Regions from separate parts of the Homo sapiens genome. Here region 2 is linked to region 1. Evidence: promoter capture Hi-C in human tissues and cell types (Jung and others, 2019). All regions are on one chromosome and are shown on one strand. The core of a region is centred on a gene start or on the middle of the fragment in contact, and the rest is flanking DNA. Distances in the headings are between cores, read along the strand shown. Region 1 holds the start of ITGA2 (integrin subunit alpha 2). Region 2 overlaps ITGA1 (integrin subunit alpha 1).

What was found. The method cuts DNA at HindIII sites, captures the fragments that hold promoters and counts their contacts. A contact is called where the count stands out against the background at its distance.
Region 2: a contact is called between a fragment that was not itself captured here and the fragment with the promoter of ITGA2 in region 1, in 1 of the 25 tissues and cell types used here (hippocampus).

Annotation. Positions count from the first base shown.
Region 1 is chr5:52,984,969-52,991,138 of GRCh38, reverse strand. ITGA2 (integrin subunit alpha 2) reads right to left here and starts at 1,787. Exons shown (of 30, transcript NM_002203.4): 1 at 1,607-1,787. The coding sequence starts at 1,670. ITGA2-AS1 (ITGA2 antisense RNA 1) reads left to right here and starts at 853. Exons shown (of 4, transcript NR_186583.1): 1 at 853-1,049; 2 at 2,863-2,935. RefSeq lists a silencer at 1,834-1,983 and an enhancer at 2,448-3,647. The HindIII fragment of the contact is 5,063 bases long and covers 1-4,154 here.
Region 2 is chr5:52,805,658-52,811,489 of GRCh38, reverse strand. All of the region lies in intron 1 of ITGA1 (integrin subunit alpha 1), which reads right to left. Among named protein-coding and RNA genes, the nearest start is that of PELO-AS1, 7.8 kb to the right of the region's middle. The HindIII fragment of the contact is 3,674 bases long and covers 2,081-5,754 here.

The sequences.
Region 1 (6,170 bases), core at 538-3,037:
TCTCTGCTTGCTTGCCCTGAGGTGTCCTTATTAACTCCAGGTTAAGTCTCTGTTCCTGACTTCATGCCTTGCAGCGTTACATTCCATTAAAGAATTTCTCACTGCTCTTTACATAACAAGCCTCAACATTTCAAAGATAAGAAAATGATGTTATGTTTCCACAGCTTATTTTAATACTGGGTAATTACAGAGAGATGAAAAGCTTGGGTTTATATTTCTATTAGCTCTAGTTGTATTCCAGAGACTCATTTTCAATGTCAAGTACAACTTTACCTGAAATCCGTAGATTAGGGTTGGTGGCCCCTCAAAACAACTCATCTGGTTCCCGGAGAAAGTATCTGAAGCACCCAATACAGGTGAGACAGAAAACCTAAGATGCCCATTCTCTGCTCGGGCTGGGGACAGTGGTGCTATTTCTCTCTTATCTCTGACCTGGAGAAAATGCCACCAGGTTGACGTGGACTAGGATTCATTCCTCCACAATAAAGAATAGCAAGTGGCTGAATGTCAGTCTCAAAGGAGGACAGCTTAGGAAATATTTATCTTCTTTGTAAAAAAAAAAAAAAAAAACCACACACACACTTTAAAATCAGAGACAACTTTTTTGTTTTGTTTTGATCGCTGTTCAAACTACATTATACAAACGTGTCTCCTTCTCCCTCCAAATAAACTAAAATTCTTAAATTTGACCACACTCTAGCTCTGCCTAATGGTCAGGGAAAAAGTACTCAGGCGATGGTCCCACAAAAGCTCTCCACCCCAGCCTTATTTCCTCCTCTTAGTGTAAAAGAACTCAGGAGGTGGGCGGGCCCCACTGCCACAGCACTACAGTTAGAGCGGCTGCTCCGGCTTATTCTCTCATTGCGGCATCTAGGATCCAGAAGTGAAAAGAACTTTTCCTAGCCTAAGTTTACATTCGTCGAATAGACAATGTTACAACAATAAGAGGAAGGCAGAAGGGAAGGAAGAATTCCCCTCTGCCAAGTATTTAAGTGGCGCTTGGTTTATTCCAAGTCCCCCCGGGAAGAAACACAGCGCTTCGTCCTCAAGTAAGAAATAGAGGCATTATTCACATCCTTGGGTTGAAAAATAAGCATTTTGGGGCTCGCAGGCTTCTGCAAAGCCAGCAAGCACCGCGCTGGGGAGCTGCAGGCCGCCATCAGCAATGGATTCCGGATTTCCCTGGTCTCTGGCAGGCGCGGCACCTGTCTGAGCCAGGGGAAGTTGGGCTGCAGGACTCGCGGTCTCCAGGACACCCGCGGATCCCCACACTGTCCATGCTTGAGTGCGTGCGTGTCTGTCTGTGTGTGTGTGTGTGTGTGTGCGTGTGTGTACCTAAAACAAAGCACTCACTGAGATGACTTTGGAGGGTGCTTAACAGACAGGGCGAGACGCGCCTAATGGGGACGCAAGGCCTGGGATAGCAGGAAGGGAACGAAGAAGTATCTCTTTCCAAGCAGGTCCTGGTGGCTGGGAGCCCGAGTCCACGTGGAATCCGAGGGAACACACGGAGCTCGCTCCCTAGTTCCGCCCAATCCCTCCAGCGAGCCCCAGGAAGCCGCGCGGGTCCCTCCTGCAGCCGATGCAGAGCGAAATCCCCGCTTACCTTGACTGAGCGCTAACACCAGCAGCAGCGGCAGCGGCGCGGCCCCTGTCCGTTCTGGCCCCATCCTGGGTCTGACCGGGGGACCGTAGTTGCGCTGGGTTTGCAGAGGTTTGCAGAGGATACCCTTGGCCGAGGGATACGAGAACCTGCACACTCTAGAAGCTGTCCAGAGGGCTTCTCTCCCCCGCCCGGTGAGAGCAGGGAAAAGTTTCTGGGCAGCTCCTGCAGCGCCGAGGGCCCGCCCCAGCCCGCCCCTCCTGATTCCGCAAACACCGGATCTGCTCCGGCCGCGCCCCGCCCCACCCCGGCCCTGCGGCCCCGCGGGCTGCACCTCGGCTCGTCCACACGCGGGGCACCGCACCTTGGCTCCCGTACAGCGGCCCAGCCCCGGCAGCCTGGAGGCGGTGGGGATGGGGATGGCGCCCTGGCAGGCTTTCCTGCCCTGGACGGGACGGGTGGGCATATCCGACGGGCGAGCGCCCGCCCTGGCACCACTCCGCCCCCGCAGCCTGTCGCCAGCACGCAGGAGATGCCCCAGTCCCCGGGAGAACGTGGCCCCTCCGCAGCCCTTGGCAGCGCCCGGCTCCTGGCAGCGGGTGCCGAGGGCACTAGCCCTAAACCACAGTGCCTAGGGGCTGCGCGGTGCGTCCCTTTCTCTGTTTTTCCTAAGTGGGTGGAGAAAGGGACAAAAATAAGCGCAGAATGACCAGGTTAGAAACTAACTCATCAGGAAAGAAGATCTGCTCACAAGTTATGATTATCCAAGGTGATATTTAAGCAATACCTGCTGCAAGAGCTGTGTGTGTGTGTGTGTGTGTGACAGAGAGACAGAGAGAGAGAAATCATCATTACTTCCTCTCCTCCGAGATAATTAAGAGCTGATTTAATGACTGAGTTTAGGAGATTAACTTCAAGGCCAGAGAAAAGGCTGAGAGCCCATACATGCACTTGTGACTCTCCCTGTCTACATTACACCATGACATAGACTGTGACCATTTTCTTCCATTATTTCAGTCTCACATCTGGAAAGAGAACATTCTATATCCGAGATTTTTAGTTAAAAACCTAAGAAATAGGATATTAATTTTTCTTGTCTGAATCTTATGTTTTATCCAAAAGTTTGGCCACAAATTTCCAGCACATTGCTGAAACCAGAATTCTTCCAGTGACTACTTTTGTGAAGGAACGAACTGTTTTCATAAATCAAGCTTAAGGAGTTATGAGTCTAATAATCATCATTATTGTCATCATTCCAGATCTTCATGGAATGCTACTATGAGCTGAATGGGATGCCTGAGATACTGCCTCTAGGAAGCAAAGTGGCTCAAGGTGGGAAGGACTTAATAATTCATAAAAATCAAGCTCTTCTCTTTACTATAGATAGGGCTGATGTGTCACATTGTTAAAGTATTAAATTGGTATGCATCAGATGTTGCTGCTGATGGCTTATGACTAATACCCTTTGAACCCAAATTATATAGTCCCAGGCTCTTTCCTGTTTTCTTATCAGTCACTTACTGGCTGCACTTACTCACCTTGACAAACACCTGAAGGCATTTTTTTCTGAATTGTCTGGGGTACTCACCTGCTTACTAAAACTCCGGCTATCACCTGAGAGCTCTTAGGTGGCTGCTCACTAACCGGTGACACGATTTTGACGCTCCTTACAGACTTTTTGAAGGAAGTCAGCCAGGTTTCAGGGAGATGAATATCTGTCTGTTTCCTTCTGACTCACTGAAATGTGAGTAAGTGTTTGGAACAGACCTGTGTTTGGGAGGCAGGACACTTCCTTTAATGTGAGACAGGAATTTGTGTTTTATCTCTGGGGGTGGGGGGAAATAACATGCATCCTTCTTGGTTTTTGTTCTCAGAACTGGACAAATTAACATTACACTGTCATGAAGTGCAGAATAAGTCAGGAGCTACGATTTTCCAGAGCCAGGCAAAACTTTTAGAAACAAAGAACAAACTCCTGCCTCACATTAATTTTAAGAGGATAAAGTGTTCCTGAGACAAAGTAGTTTGAGAACCCCTTCCAGGGTGCTCTCCTGCCTAGTTGCAGTTGTGAGGGACACCACATTCAGAGCAGGAAATATGGAAGGTTAAGCTGGGGCTTCTCAAACTCTTTGGTCTCAAGAGCCCTTTACTCAGTAAGTCCTTTAACAAAAATCCTATTATGTGTGAACATAAATAATGTACATTTTATGAAAAATAACTATATTTCTCCAAATGAAAGAATCCGGGAGAAGAGTGGCATTGCTTTACATTTTTGCTAATATTTTAAATATCTGGCTTAAAAACAGACATTTGGATTCTCAGATCTGCTTCTGCATCCAATCTGTTACGGCATGTAGTTTTGGTGAAATTATATTGATTAATCTGGTGTTACACAGATATGGACTTAGAAAAACAGGAGATAATTCTGGATAATCCCCTGATACTACACCAAAACTCAACAAGTGGTAGTTTCTTAAAGTTGCAATGTGGAATCTGAAACCATATCAATGGTTTTTCCTATTCCGTGGCATTAAAATTCATTGATCTGCTGGCCTCTCCGTGTCCCTCTCCCTTTCTCTTCCTGTGAGTGCCCAGTGATGAAGAATACAATGACCACCAGTCCCCATCCTTGTTCTTGCACCATGAGGGCAAATGTCAACACAGTGAAAAACGCAGTAACGTCTCAGTATTGTTATGAAAATAGTTTTGACTTCACTGGCCACTTGAAAGGATCTTGAGAGACCCAGAGACCCTACTCCAAAAAGCACTCAGGGGTGAAGTGAGGCCTTCCCCTCTTTTTCTTTTCCTTAGCTCAAGACAGAGTTTTGTTGGGGAACACGGCTCAGATAAGTTTCCCCAGTGTTTCCTTCTGATCTGTTGTATCGTCATGCCCTGCCCTCCTTTGTTTATCCCGTTTTCATATAGACAATCACCCAAACCAGAAACCTCTGCTTTCTTCCCCAGGTGCACCACCAGCCCCCTGCTAACATCCCATTCCAATTCTGTCTTTACACCCTACTAGGGTTTTCTGTGCCATCTCCTATTTTCTGTTCCACTGCTAATCTCTCTTTGGTTCAAACCCTTTTGATCTTTCACCATGGTGACAAACTCCCATATAATCTCTCTGTGCTTCCTTCTCTCCTGTTCCAGTTCATCTTTTATACCTGTTGTCACAGTTATCCAAAAATGCAGGACTGATCTGCTGAAAATCATTAGATGTCTTCAGGACATTCAAAGTACCCTAGGGTTTAAGGTCACGATTTGGCTCCAACTCACCTCTGTGGGCTCCGTGGCTATCTTTCCCTCTTGCACACTATGTTTAGGCCAAATTCACGAGTTCACTGGCCTGCCTTTCCCATTCTTCATTGTCAATTCCTTATTTTTCTACTTAGAATAGCTTTCTTTTTTTCTTCCATTGTTTCAAATTCTACTTCAAGGCTCCAGTCAAATTCTATATTATTAGCCCAGCCTTTCCCATTTTCTTCACTGAGAACTAATCATTCTTCTTTCTTGGCTCTGGTTTCCTCTAGCTTTTTTTTTTTGTTTTTGTTTTTTCCCCCAAATAAACTTTCTTTTGTATGTATTACAGAGTAATATATTATTGAGTTATATGTGTATATTCTACCTTCTCATTTAAATGCTGGGTCTCTGAAATCTTATACATTTTTGTTATAAGAGTCTAGTCCTATACCTAGTAAATAAATTTCTAATAAATATTAATAGTTATTATAATACATTGAAATGAGTTTCCTAACAATTCCACATTCTTCTCCCTAGACCTGAAAAGGGTGGTAAATATGAACTTCTAGGTAAGTCCTAGTAATTTTGAAGTGAAGTAACCAGTGGCTTCTCAAATGTTACTCAGTGAATCCATGGGATGAGTGAGTAAAGCTTAGAATCCATTGAGCTTGACTCACACACAAGTCTCTAAGCACTGGCTGGGGTGCATAATGGCCAAAATAAAAGAGACACTCCTAACTTAAACACAAACAAAACAAATAAAATAATTCTAGATTTCCTAGCTTCCTGGACCCATCAATACACTGATGAATCATATTCATATTTCGATTCTAGCACAACTACGGTTGACTGGCCTTACTTGTTTTCATGCTTGTGGCAGACATGCAAAGCTATTTGCCAGCTCTGCCAATAGGGCTTTCTCAGAGTCTTCCATGATCCCCTTCTAGAAGTCACTGAGTCACATAATCCTGCCTCCTTGTCGCTAAGCCAAACACCTGACCAAGCTCGATCAATCTCCTAGGGATTTACATTCATGGTATACAGATTCTAGAATCTTTGCTGATCACATGAAATGGAAATTTGTGTTCACTTTGTACAACCATTTTCTTTCTTTTTTCCCCCCCGCCTTTTTTTTTTTTTTTTTTTTTTTGAGATGGGGCTTTGTGCTGCCTAGGCTAGAGTGCAGTGGTATTCATAGTTCGTTTCAGCCTCAAACTCCTGGGCTCAAGTGATCCTGCTACCTCAGCCTCCCGAGTAGCTGGGCAGGCATGCACCACCACACCTGTCTAATTTTTTAATTTTTCTTTTTATAGAGATGGGGTCTCAC
Region 2 (5,832 bases), core at 2,668-5,167, 180 kb after region 1:
GCTTTTAAAATAGGGTGCAAAAAAGATTCTTTTTAAACCTGAGAGTCACTAAAGATTTATTTTACTGGAAAGACATGATCGCAAAAATAACAAGCAATTATTGTTACTGCACCAAGTAGAATCAGATATCTGCAAGAGAGATTATGAAGTCAAGAGCCACCCTTCTTTGCTCATTCTGCAGATGAAGAAACCAACTCTCAAAAAGATGAAATTATTTCCTCAAGTCACACAACCTAGTGGCAGGGCCTGGTGTCATGAGTCATGGGCCAGTTCTTACACCATATCCTCTGAGAATGACATGGATGATTTCTTCCTTGTATCATACTTGGTTATTCACAAATGCAATGTTCTTGCAAATGTTAATATTATAATCTTTGGTAACTGTAGCAAATAATCGTTGAATTATTTTGTAATTTTTGGTGTGCAACATCCTTTGCAAAGTCCTAAATTTCATACAGATGTGAAAGCTGGTTGCGCTACTTTATTGATCCTCACAATTAAAATTTCTAATTCATCCAGAAGAACATATGTGAATCTGTATGAAATACATATCTAAGAATTTTAAATTTACAATGAACCATTATAAAAAGGCCTTGACCTTCTCCACATTTCCTACCTACTTGCCCGTTTCCCATTATATTTTACTCTGACCTAGGGAAAGTACAGGATCAGAGATAAAGGTGAAAATGATTCCCAGAAAGACAGGAAAAATTTGAACTTATTAAGCTCTATTAAGTTTTAGATAAGGAGTTAGGCCCAGAGTGAGAAATTTACTGTGGTGATAACAGACTCATTCTCTTGAAAACCTACTAGTGTATTTAATGAGGCAGATAGTGAATTTTGCATCAGTCTTCGCACTTTCCCACATTCCACATGCTATCCCATTTTCTTCCAGTTCAGGCTGAGAACACACTGACACACAAAGGGTCAGAGAACTATTCCCAGAGTTCATTCCTCCTCATAAAATAGATTGTGGTTTTTTTCTCCCTTCTGCAGAAAATGTTCTTTCCTTCTACCATATCCAATCCATGTTGGCCATTTAGTAAAATGAACAACTTAAGAGAGAAGTTATTTTTGTTTGTTAAAGGTGTTTTCCTGAGTTTTACAACGAAAGATAAAATGTTGAATATAAAAATAGAAAAGACCCCGGTGGGTCTTTCTAGTGTCCAGCCCCAGGGCCTTCCCCAGGCCCCAGCTAGCTCCTTGTCACTTCTTTATTCCTGACTTCAGTCCCCAGGGGTCAGTTTCCCTTTCCCTGAGGTGGCTGTGCCACCAACCAGTTAATCCTGGACATTCTTTCTTCCAGGAATGGCTATGGAAAGGGACAGAATGTCTCAAACTCCCCTGTCACCATCCCCATCTTTGCTGTCCTAAAAACGAAAGAAGCTAAGCTTCCTTTTCTGGTTTAACCAGTCAGTGCTTAGTCATGTAAGAAATGCAGAGGAGACAACAAAAACATGGATACTATTATACAAAGGTTCCACAATCTTTCAGAGTCCTTTCAGTCATGGTCCCTGGTCTGTATTTGATTTTCATTTTCTTATGAGGGTAGGAGGTAATGGAATCTCCTTCTCCATGATGTCTCCTCTCAGGTTTGTTGACTCCACAGTAAATATTTAACATTTAGAGAGATCAGGGATTACAGAGACCACTCTGTAGAAGAAAAATATTACCAAAGTGAAGTTGAGGCCAGGTGCAGTGACTCACGCCTGTAATCCCACTTGGGGAGGACAAGATGGGCAGATCACTTGAGGTCAGGAGTTTGAGACCAACCTGGCCAACATGGTGAAACCCCGTCTCTACTAAAAATATGACAATTAGCTGGGTGTGGTGGCACGCACCTGTAATCCCCAGCTACTGGGGAGGGTGAGGCACGAGAATTGCTTGAACCCAGGAGGCAGAGGGGCAGTGAGCCAAGATCAGGCCACTGCACTCCAGCCTGGGGTATAGAGCAAGACTCTTGTCTCCAAAAAAAAAAAAAAAAAAAGTAAAGTTGAGAGGCCTTAAAAGAGGAATAATCTCAGGTCCCTTCACCTGATCTCTCTAGAAACTAATGGAAGATCAGTGTGGGCTTCTGGAACTTGCCAGTTTAAACTCTGGGAATACCTCCTCACTAAAGCCAGGCTGAGTTAGCCCTCTGAGCTCCCATGTTCCTGTGCCAGATTGCACTGCTATTACTACTGCTTTACCATTCGTTCCCCATTGTAGACTGTGTTTTTTTGCAAGGAAGAGACTGTGATCTTTCTTTACTTCTGATCACTGGGGGCTATTAGAGTCCCTGTCACATAGTAGGTACTTAGTACATGATTTTCAGAAAAATGAAATGGTTCTCAGAAGAAGAAAGGCAGGAAGAGTTCCCTATAGGGAAATATAAATACTCCTCCAAGGAATGAACAAGACTTCAAAACTGAGTTTGAGTCTCAGCAATGCTGCTCAGAGAAAAACTGCCTTGCCACAAGATGATAATTTGATAAATAAGGAGGGTTTAAGGCATTTTTGAATCCTGCATTGTTCCTTGTTCCTCTACCCCAAATGACTCAATATGAATAGGTGACAAAAAGTAGGTGACATTGGAATCAGATATATCAAACAGGAATGTGGACCCTGTGAAAAACTCCTATTGTGTTTGAGCAAGTTACCAACCCTCTCTGGGCTGGCTTAAATCTGTAACATGAAGGAACTAGGTCCGATGATATATAAAGTTCCTTACAGCTTTAACCTCTTATGATTTTAAGTGATTCAGAGCCATGTACTGAAATGTATTTTAAGCTTCCTCTTCAAACTCATCAAACAAAAAAAAAAAAAAAAAAAAAGAAAGAAAGAAAGAAAAAGAAAAAAAGAATTATACCATAGTCAACAACACACTTGGGGAGGAAAAATAAACTATAAATTATGGTCATCAGATCAAATGAGCTGAAACACAAGATTAAAATGTTTTCTATCCACAGAGCAATTTTTCACAATGGTGTCAAACAAAAAGTTCTAGTCAATGTTTACACTAGGACTTGATGAAAAATTCCAGACATAAAACTTCTGGAACGTAGACTTGAACTCAGAAGGACCTCCTATCTCTGAATAAATTGTACAACTAAAATCTATTGGGATTTTTTTCCTTAACAAAAATTCATCCTTCAACAATTATTTGAGTTTTATTACTGAGACTATTAAGGCATAGTAAAACTCTGGTTATCTGGAACAGTCATTCTAGGTATGACAGCTAAAGATTTTTTAAAGTACCACTATTTTTGGATGAAAATCATTGAAAGACATTACATTTATTTGACTTCTTTAACAGAATACACTGAATGTAATTTAATCTTTTCCTCAGTGTGAATACCAGGTACTGGTATTGTCCTCAGTAACATCCTCAAGTCCCAGTGAAATACTCTATAATACTCTAGGCTTTTTTTCTTTTGACAGTGTTTCAGAATCCACTCCCACTATCAGCTGTCACTTTTAACTGCTGTCAATTCTGTCAACTTGGCCACTTGTGGTCATCTCCTGCTGATATCTAATTTCTAGATTAAAGGCAGGGAAAACTGTCTTAATTCATCCTTGCATACCCAGGGGTAGCATAGTTCTAGCTACTTAAGGTGAGTCATTAAAAAAAAGTTTATTGTAATAGTGCATGACTTAATTGTAGGTTTAAAATTAAGCAACAAAAAAAGCTTGCTGAAACTAGGTGTGAAATAACAATAAATGAATGCTGGATAGTGCTTGAGGGGATTGCTTTAATACATAGATTTGCCACATTTTCTCTGCTTTCTAATTCTCCACTATGATCCAGGTAGATTAGAGGACCACAGAATTGAGTTCCTGATTTTTCATAAGATGACAAAATAATAGAATAAAAACATTAAAAATGATTGCATAAACTTTGGCTGATTATATAAAATTTAGTGTCATCAAATAATTTATTTTTATTTTTAGATACATGTTTGCCTACTCCAAACTGAAAGCTGAGAAGAACTGGCATTCTTAGATTTTTTAGGGTGATAGCTGAGGGAGCACCTCATCACACCCACTAACTGTTATTTTGGATAAATTATTTAATCTTCTTTAATTTCATTTTTTTTGCATCAGAAAATAGTAATGACAAAACCCTTCTGACTGGGTTCTTGAAAGACTAATGCATTTTAAAGCACTTACCATAAGACCTGACACTTAATAAGCACACAGTTACTTTTGTTATAACAGGTTGTCCATTCCTGGAGTGGGGACAGTGGTACCAACCCTGGGCAAAGCCAGGCAATATGACTGCCAAAACATTTTGCTCTTGAATTTGCTACTTGGCAAATACTGCTCTTGCCTCAGTATTGGGTGTTTTGAAAACAAATGTGGCACCCAAATAGAAATAAGCTTTAAATTCCTTAAATCTCTGACATTATAGAAAACAGGCACTTCCATTGAACTAACATTCTAAAGAATGGGGTTTTAATGTAGGCAATTTTAGGAAATAAAGAAAGGAAATTTAAAAGAAGACTGATATCCAAGTCTCCACAATTTATCATAAATGTTATCATCCTTAGCACTGAAATCTGAAAATTTAAGACCTTCCCATATCAATGTCAATTATTATAGAGTTAAAATATTCATTGTAAAAAGCAAACACTGTAGCCTCAAATTTGTATGCAACTATAATACTACACACAAAGGTGTTTGTCCTTACAGAAACTCATTCATTTCTCAATTTAAATTAAAACATTCATAATATTCCAATTTATTAATCAGTGTTATTTATCTCAACACAATATAATAACATGTTACTGAAAATAGAGATATTAAATACTGCAAAATAGTTATTTTACAGATTATTCTTGGAAATTTAGAAATAATAGTGTAACATGTGGATGAGAATACAGATGGTGATATATATCACACACTTCCTAAAAAGGACTAATTCTTACTATATAAAGAAAAACAATGAATGAGACTTTATCATCGCCACTGAAGAAGGTATCTCCATTAATAAATACCTTCTCCCAATGTTTTTGAATGGTATTTTTAACCTAAATAAATATCTCTTTACTGAACTTGGTCAATTTTTTTATTTCTACGTGAAGTTTACTACTTGATGACCATATTTAGCAACTCCTGATTGTTCTCCTTGTTAAATCCAAGACTACTAATACAGGTTTTATTTTCTAACAGCTTCATTAGCTGCATTTTTAACTTCTAAATCTTTTCCTAAAAAGGCATAATTGATTCACAAAAATATTATAATTGCATCCTAGATCCTTTATAAATCATGTTGGCTGTGTGTAACACTTTTACACTAAATTTCTAAATCAATTCAATTCATGAGAGATACATATAATACATTAGGAAAATCTTGAAGAGCACTTTTCTAAAATACTGAATCTCTTAGAGTATATAAACTGAATCACACCACAAAGTTTAAATATGCTGACATCCATTGGAAGAAAATTATTTTACTGAGCATTTTACCAACTTTATTGGAATTAATTGTTCTTTCTTAAGTTGCTCTTCAGCTCTTCACTTTAGTTGTGCTTCACTGCTGGAGAATTCATTTACTTAAACATGATATACCAGCAAAATTGTGTGCTGGTCAAAATCAATTTTTGAAACAAATTATTTTCAAATCATTAAGAAAGATGTAAATCCAACTGCAAAATTGATGCCACAGTTCAGACTCTTGTGGTTCCTCACGGAATAAAAGGGGAAGTGTATCTCTGATTTGTCTGGTGAGACAAATCAGAGATACTATGTTAAGATGGGGAGCACAAGGCCATGGGGTCCGCTAGCAGTAACTGATTGGCCTGAATGAGATATAGCTTGCTAATTCCTGCACTATGGGAATCCTGAAAAAAT